Regions from separate parts of the Homo sapiens genome. Here regions 1 and 2 are each linked to region 3. Evidence: promoter capture Hi-C in human tissues and cell types (Jung and others, 2019). All regions are on one chromosome and are shown on one strand. The core of a region is centred on a gene start or on the middle of the fragment in contact, and the rest is flanking DNA. Distances in the headings are between cores, read along the strand shown.

Region 1 (2,700 bases), core at 114-2,613, 310 kb before region 3:
CACCACAGTCTACCCAGCTCTTGTAGGGACCTGACCAGCAAATTAAGTGGGAAGATGGTGGCCATCACCCATGCACCCTTTAGGCATCTGCGGTGTTGCTGACGCCGCCGTTTTGACCAGGAGGTTGTATTGTTTTATTTCCTTGGCTGGAGCTGGGGGTAGTTTCTAAGGTTTCCATTTGGTCTTTCCTACTACAGTGATTTTTACTCCATGGGCCAAAAAGCCCATGTGAGGATTTGCTGTTGAGCATGCCAGTTCCAATTGCACGTTCCTGGGCTGGGAAATGATGGGCTGAGGCCTGGGCCAGGACTCCAGGTCCTTCCTGACCCCATATTCCCTACCCAGATGGGAGCCTCTGAGGGTGCTTTGCGCCCCAGGTGTCAGCGTCCACTCAGACCCTGATCTGGGCGTCTTCCTCTCCCCAGGGCACAGTTGTCCAGATAAGCATCTTTGGGTCCCTGGAGGGACTGGGGGGTCACTGCTGTCCACACTTGGAGGCGTGAGGCCTTTCACAAGGGGACCTGGCCGCTCTTTCCATTTGTGGGCTCTGGCTCTGAGAACTGGCTGACATAAGGAAACAAAGCAAGTGGTTGTGTTTTCCATCAGAGCAGTGGGCCTGGACTCACTCACTCGTTTTAAAATTTGTGGGTGCCGCGTGCTGAGCCAGTGTCCTCCGAGTGTGCCCCGGGACCACCTGGGAGCTTGGAAGGGGCAGAGCCTTGGCCGCGGCACAGACCAACTGAGTCAGAAATCCTGGGCCTGGGGCTCAGCCAGCTGTGCTTTAAGGAGCCCTCCAGGGGCTGCCATGTGCCTGAGTGTGAGAACCAGTGTAGTGAGCAGCTCCTTGCAGGCTGCCCATCTGCGTCTCCTGTCAGACTGTGGCGCTCCATGAGCCAGCTTCATGGGCCCCCATGGTCAGGGTCTTCTGGCCGCTGCCCCCACCTTCCCTCCCGCTGCCAGCACGTCTCAACAGGTGGGAGCTCCAGCGGCTGCACTGCCATTGGTGCCAGGCTGACAGCATCGCCAGGCAGTCGGTGGTGTTCTGACCAACTGTGGCATCTGTGCGCCAGGACCACGTCTGCGCCCCCCCATCCCAGGCAGGCTCCCCAGGGCGGTGCCTCAGTTACACATGGTTTCTGGAGAATTCTCAGAAAAGGGGTGCAACAAGTGGGGAGGGCAAGGAGCTGGCAAAGGGGGCTGGAGCCGTAGCCCTGCCCCACGGACATCTGAGAGGCAAGGGCACAGCTCAGAGGCTCTGACTCCTGCCCACACGTGGGTCTGAGCTGCCTGTGGGGTGGCACGTGGTCCTCAGGCATCTCTGAATGAGCAGCTCTTGTCAGCCAAGGGCAGTGTTCTGGAGGAGGACACAGGTGAGCGTCTGCAGCAGCTGGGGAGGGGAACAAGGACACCCAAGGGGATCTTGGAGGATCGGCCACGGCAGCTGCCTTCACGGTGGCAGCTCCTCAGTAGCAGCGCAGACGGACCGAGAGACCCTTGAAAACTCCTCCCACGTAAATCCGGGTAAAACTTAAATAGCTTCTCGGGTGCATTCTGACGTTACCAAAAAGACAAGGAAACCACCAGGGGTGAAAGAGAAAGGAGGGTCCTCAGTGCAGCGGCTGAGCTGACGCTTCCCGAGGAATTTGCTGATCCTGGAAGGCTGAAGCCTCGGGTTTTAAAGGTCCTCAGGAACAGGAGGCCGGGATGCGGGCCGTACAGCCAGAGGCCTCTGTGGCATCCGGATCCTCAAAGGGCTGCACCCAGCGAGAAAGCGGGTTCTCCGACGATCCAGCCACAGAAGGGAAACACTGGATCCTGCCTGGGCTCTGACAGGAAAGCGTTTCCACTGAGCTTTACAATTTCAGGCCATCCCCCTGTAGGGTCTGGAGAACCCCATGTGGAGGAATTACATCACCATGGCCCCAGGTTGGTTGTTGCCTGGTACCTGGTATGAGCCAATATAATCTTATCTGGAGGTCTTGCCCCCAACCAAGGCTTCCCAGGCTTCAGATAAAAGACCTCGGGCTTTCCAACATGACGCAGTCAAAAGTTACAAGACGCATGGAAACGAGCATCATGAACAAGGGCAGAACTGGAAGCTGAGGGACGCAGGATACTGGAATTATTCAATAAAGAATACACAGTGAGTATGTTTGAAATGTTTATAACACAACAAATCCATAATGTGAGAAGTAAAATTCTAGCTAAAAAGAGCAAGAAGATTTTAAAGAAATTTGATAGAATTTCTAGAAATGAAACATATACTAATAATATTTAAAGCTCAATGGACTAAACAGCAGACGAATCATAGTTGAAGAATTGGTGAATTAAAGGATAGATCTAAAGAAATTACTCAGAATTTATCCCAGAGATGGGAAACAGGAAAGAGAGGTTAGGAGGCAGAACAGAAGACATCTAGCATCAGTCCAGCTGGGGTTCTATAAGAAGATCCTGGAATAAGGTGAGGACGTTTTGAAGAAATAGTGGCTGATAATTGTTTTCCAAATAGATGAAAAACATGAACCATTTATCCAACAGGCACAGTAAAACCCAGGTATGGCAAATAAAACATCTACATCAAAACACATTGTAGTAAAATTGCGGAAAACCGAAAACCAAAAAAGAAAAAAAAATTAAAGCAGCTAGAGAGAAAAGACAGATTCCCTACGAAAGGATAATGGACACAACCCATTAGCAAAA
Region 2 (2,700 bases), core at 86-2,585, 330 kb after region 3:
GACGCCTGTGGGGGCTGAAGCGAAGCTCCTGTCCCAGCAGAGGCTCTGGCATCTCCTTCCAGCCCGTGGCATCACCCCTCCCCCAGAGAAAGGCATAGGGAGTCTTCCAGAAAAACCTCAGCTGCTGGCCCTGTGGGAGGGCTGAAAACCGAACCATGCCTGCTGCGCATGAGTGTTTTGGAGGAAATCTTAATAAGGTTTTTCCCGAACAGCAGAGAAGAGACGTTTCCAGAGGGCAACTCTCTTCCTCAGACCCTACAGAGCCCTCAGAGACTGCAGGCTGGAATCCCCTAGTCCAGCCCTGCAGCAGCACTGGGAGACTCACTCAGGGCTCCAAGACACTTCTTAGTTTACTTTGCAAAAACGGCTTGAGTCCAATGTGAAAAGTGACTTTTCTTTCATACTGTGATAGAGTAGGAACTCCTAATCTGGGGCAGGGAGTGAAGAAAGGAACGGGAAAAGAGGACAAAAGTTAACGGATACTCAGATCTAAGAACAGCAGACAGTGCCTGCTTCGAGGAAGTGGGAGAGGCAGCTCCCACACGGCCGCCACCCCAGTGCCCGGCTTCTGGGCCAGCCTCCATCCCCTAATGATGGGAAGGGTCAGGTCACCAGGTAGGTGGCCACTGGGTGCAGGTCCTCCACCCTGAAGTCACATCTCAAGTTACTTAGTTAACTTACTGGGGACACCTGGTAAAAGGGCCTGCTCGATCACCCCGACCCTGGCTTGGCCCCCAGGACTGAGCAGAGGCGACCATCACAGCGTGGACGCCCCTTCACCCCCAGGGACGCACAAACTCTGAGCTCCAGACTGAAGGGGGAAGGGCACTCCTGCCAGCGGCTCGGGGGAAGCATCCTCTGCCCCTCTGTTCCCAGCCCCGTGGGAGCGGACCCAATCGCCGGGAGCTCGGCACAGAGCGCGTCCGCCCGGCGGTGCGGCGCTGGGGTCCGGCGGCTCCTCGCTCCGGAGCGGCGGGACCTCCGGGCCTCAGTTTCCCATCTGCAGAGTGGCGATGACGACAGCTGCCGTCACTGGGTGCCTGGGAAAGGCGCCCTGCGAACGGACACCCGCTATCGCCAGGGCCGCTGGGCGGGGCGGTCCGCTGCTGCTCCGCGACCCCCAGGAGCCCACCCCGCTCCCCGGGCTTGGCCCAAGGCCAAGGTCACGGCGAGCGGCGGCTGCAAGGGCCGCACGGCCCGGCTGGGCAGGGCTGCACCGCGGAGTACGGCGCACGAGCTCGGACTGGGCTGGTCCCAGGCACCCGGAGCCGCCGCCGCCGCCCGCGCCCACTCACCTTCCGAGCGGGAGGAGGACGCCGCGCGCCGGACGGAAGTGTCCGGCCCCGCCCCACTCCGCCCGGCCGGCGCGCACTTCCGGGACGCTCTGGGCCCCGGGAGGACCGCACGCCTCGGTGGCCGTGTGGGGGCGGGGCCGGGAGCGAAGAGGAGGCCTTTCCCCGCCCCTCCCCTCGTGGGCTGCGCCCGCGCGTGGCTTTCGCGTACACGCTGGCCCGGATCCCGCCCGCGCCTGCAAAGCGCCCGGGCGCGGGGAGCGGCGCTGCGTGGGGCGCAGAAGCCGGCGCCTCGGAGCCTCCTTCCCGACGCCGGCCCTGCACCGCCCGGGGAGCCAGCGCGGGGCCGGGCTTCGGGAGATGACGGCGCCGTCCCCACGCTGCCCGCGGCCCCTCCGTGCACTCCAGGCCTCCGGGGGTCCTCGGCTGGAGTTGCTTCCACGTTCAGCTCGCGAGTCCCCCCCGCCGCCCTCTTGGGTTCCCTCCTCGGGATGTGTCCGCAGCGATGGTCACCGGCGGCCGGGAACCGCTGCGAGACGCGCGACCTCCCGCTCCCCTCGCGGGGGCCCCAGCGCCCTCGATTCTGCCTGCTTTCCAGGGGCGTCCCCGGGAGCCTGAGGAGGATGTTACAGGTTCCCCAAAGCCCCTTCATGGACTCCTTCCTCATTTTCCTCTTGTTCAGCCACAGTTTCTCCCTCAGTTCTGTGCTTACGACCTGAAAAGAGAAAATTGTCACTTTCTGGGAAAAATAAACGGCCGGGGAGGGTTCTTTGACCGTTTTGAGCAGGGGTGCAGAGAGCCGAGGCGAGGGGACCCCTGAGCTGGAGGGGCACGCGGAGCAGAGGGCGGGGGGGCCTGCAGACGGGCAACAGCTGCCAGGGTGGACGCTCAGGGCTGTGTGGGTGGAGGAGCCCCCAGGCTGATAATATGTAAAAATCTCTAAACTCTACCGCAAGAAAACAAACATTCCAGTTAGAAAATTGGCAAGAGCCGCAACAGACGTTTGACCGAAGAGGGCACAGGGATGGCAATAGGCTCGGGAAGGGATGGCTGTCAGGGAAGGGCCGGCCAGCATCGCGGTGGGTGCCACTGCACACTTGCCAGGTGGCTCAGGTAAAAACTGCTAACAAGTGCCAAGCATCACTGAGGTCGCGGAGCAGCTTGGGACATCGCCAGTGGTAAGGCAAAGTGGTGCTGCCATTCTAGAAATTGGCTTGGTAGTTTCTTAAAAAGTTATAAGTAGCGCCGGGCGCAGTGGCTCACGCCTGTAATCCCAGCACTTTGGGACACTGAAGTGGGTGGATCACCAGAGGTGGGGAGTTTGAGACCAGCCTGACCAACAGGGAGAAACCCCATCTCTACTAAAAATATAAAAAAGCTACCCGGACACGGTGGCGGGCACCTGTAA
Region 3 (2,700 bases), core at 59-2,558:
GTCGCCCCGCCAGCGCCGGCCACAGCCCCCCGCCCCGGGGTCCCCTGCGCCCGGGGGCGCAGCCTGCTCCGGAAGCAGCTTCCAGTAGAGGCCGGTGACGCTGGCGCTGTAAATCTGCTCGTCCCCGTAGCCGCCCTCGGCCGGGGGCGGCGGGGCCGGGGCGCGGTCGGGCAGGGGGCCGGCGCCGGAGGGCAGCGCGGGCTCCTCCTTGACGGGCGGGCCGGGCGCGGGGCTCGGGGCTGGGGGCCCGGCCTCGCCGTAGAAGCGCTGGCTGGAGATGCCGTGGCGCTTCTGCCAGCGCCAGAACCAGCCGTGGCTGGCCTTGAAGGTGCACTCGGGCCCGTAGATCTGGCGCGCGAAGGCCTCGGCCTGCGCCTGGATGAGCGGGCCAGACAGCGGCACCCCGTGCTGGCGCAGCGCCAGGAACCAGGCGTACACGGCGCGGTCGATCTCCTCCTCGTTGGCCAGCCGCATCTTCTTGCGCTGAGTGCCCACCTCACCGCCCAGCTGCTCCAGGAACCAGCGCAGCTTGGGCTCGTCCTTGAGCCAGCCGCGCAGCGTCCCGCCCGGCACGCCGAAGTCGCGGCACACACTGGCCTGCCGCTCGCCGCCCTTGACGCGCTCGATGGCCTGCAGCTTGTCCTTGATGGAGTAGGCCTTGCGGAAGGCCATCTTCACGGCCACGCGGGGCCGCGGCCCGGGCGCGGGGGGCGGCGGCCGTGCAGCGGGGACGGGGGCTGGGGCGGGCGCGGGGGGCCCGGGCAGGGGACGGCGGCCGCGGCGCGGTACCGGGCCGGCCGGGGGGCCCGCGGGGTACATGGCTGCGGCGGGGGGGACCCGGGCCGCGCGGGTCGCGGGAGCCACACGCCCAGCCGCTCGGGGCGGGGCACTCGGGGGCGGGGCCGCACGGGTCCCTCCCCTTTGTCCCGCAGCTTGGCGGGCGCACGCGCGCTGACCTAGCCCGGCCCGGCCCCGCCCCGCGCCTGCGCGCTGGCCGCCTCGTGCGTCACTCGGCGCTTGCCGGCTGCCGGACCCGCCCCCACCGGCGACACCACTGGCCGCGAAGCGCAGGGGGGGCGCGCGCGCTGCCGCCCGTTCCCAGCACTTGTGCAGACTCCTCCGGGGAAGAGCGGCCTCCGCGGTCATCTCCAACGGAATTCTGCCTTTGAAGTGTCGGGGCACGGCGCGTCGAGGGTCCTGGCGGCCAGGCGGGGCGTGTGCAAGGGTCGCGTCCCCCCCCCGGGCCCCCGGCCCGTGGCTCTTGGTAGAGCCCAGTGCTTCATTTCCCGTGCGCGGCCCGGGCGGCCCTCCCTTTCATCAGTCTTCCCGCGTCCGCCGATTCCTCCTCCTTGGTCGCCGCGTCCTTGGCTGGCGTGTGAGTACCGCGGCCCCCGCCGGAAGGAGTCGGGCGCGACAGAGACGCCCGAGGGGCCGGGAGGGCGGGCGGCCCGGGCTGCGCCAGAAGCTCGCGCCGTTAGGGACTGAGGCACAAGTGCGCCAGCGCGGGCTTAGGGGCCGTGGGCCAAGTGCGGCACTTGGGGCGAGCGCAGAGAGGCGGGGCGACGGAGGCCACGTGGCCGGCTTGGAGGGCGTCCGCGGGACGGGGGCGCCGGGAGCACTGTCTCACGGCGCATCCCGGTCGTGGAAGCCCCTCGGCCAGGCTGCTGGGGCCTAAGGCCTGTGTTTGCTGCCGTCTCCGTGGGAGACCAGACATCTGCCCCAGCTGTTTCTCTGGCCTGCAGACCTTCGTACACCACGTCTTTGTCAAGCACCAGTTACTGCACGCATCAGCTGAGCACGGAGGGGATAGGCACGGACGCAACACTTTTGGAACTTAGACGCTAGTGAGCACGGAAAGGAATAAGCCTGTACTGTGACTGGGTCAAAATTTCTGTCTCTTGATTTGGATAGGGTGGTCGGGCAGTCTCTGAAGGGGGCGGGGATGCTGTTGCTAAGAAGTAGTACTTTCAGAGGCTTTAAGTGGAAGGAAGAAGGCAAAGGGGGCGGAGTGGGTTGGGGACCTGATGAGACGTCAGGATTGGTTTCCAGAATGAAGGACCGCCTGGCAGCAGAAGAACTGTGTAGCTAAACTTGGGGTTGTCCCTGCCCGACAGGGCGGGGTGCTTCTTAAGTTGACACTGCCTGCGGCTCACCTCCCAGGGAGGCAGGCCAGGCCATCTCACCTGAGCAGCCTCCTTCTACAGCTCCGCCCACCCCGTCATCTGGACCCCATGAGCCTTAAGCAGCTGGCTCGCAGGCAGTTGGTTACTTCCGGAGCCCGTGTGTGCCCAGCCCCGTTCTGGGGGTGGGGGATGCAGCTGAGGGGCTGGGCAGGTGTGGAAGGAGCCCCCGAGCGTCCTCTGAGGAAGTAGACGCTCACCTTCGCCTTCTCACCACATGCCTCAGGCCCAGCCAGGCTCCTAGACCTGCCTCTGTAGAGGCTTTCTGGGCGCAGTGCCAATCCTGTGAGACAGCAGCATCTCCCCTGGGCTGCTGCAGGGTTCACACGCAGTCAGTGCTGGCAGAGTGAGCGCCCAGCCGACAGAGCCCCCGCTGCCTCCCGCCTCCTCTGGAGGACTAGGCCCTCTGGGCTTTGCTCCCGGGTTGCTGGGTGAGGCTGCAAGGTTTAGCACAGGTGGGCACACGTGCTTGATGATGGACAAAGAGTACCTGGGCTGTGCCGTGCACTGGCGTCAGCCT

The links. The method cuts DNA at HindIII sites, captures the fragments that hold promoters and counts their contacts. A contact is called where the count stands out against the background at its distance.
Region 1: a contact is called between a fragment that was not itself captured here and the fragment with the promoter of EEF1D in region 3, in 1 of the 25 tissues and cell types used here (dorsolateral prefrontal cortex).
Region 2: a contact is called between the fragment with the promoter of GLI4 here and the fragment with the promoter of EEF1D in region 3, in 1 of the 25 tissues and cell types used here (H1 embryonic stem cells).

The regions. Positions count from the first base shown.
Region 1 is chr8:143,909,212-143,911,911 of GRCh38, reverse strand. No RefSeq gene overlaps it. Among named protein-coding and RNA genes, the nearest start is that of PLEC, 29 kb to the left of the region's middle. The HindIII fragment of the contact is 9,347 bases long and covers 1-2,700 here.
Region 2 is chr8:143,266,080-143,268,779 of GRCh38, reverse strand. It overlaps GLI4 (GLI family zinc finger 4), which reads right to left and starts at 1,335. Exons shown (of 4, transcript NM_138465.4): 1 at 1,296-1,335. RefSeq lists an enhancer at 1-319 and silencers at 880-999, 1,160-1,869. The HindIII fragment of the contact is 9,983 bases long and covers 1-2,700 here.
Region 3 is chr8:143,596,023-143,598,722 of GRCh38, reverse strand. It overlaps EEF1D (eukaryotic translation elongation factor 1 delta), which reads left to right and starts at 1,308. Exons shown (of 10, transcript NM_001130053.5): 1 at 1,308-1,375. TIGD5 (tigger transposable element derived 5) reads right to left here and starts at 892. Exons shown (of 1, transcript NM_032862.5): 1 at 1-892. The coding sequence starts at 819. RefSeq lists an enhancer at 2,061-2,660. The HindIII fragment of the contact is 45,525 bases long and covers 1-2,700 here.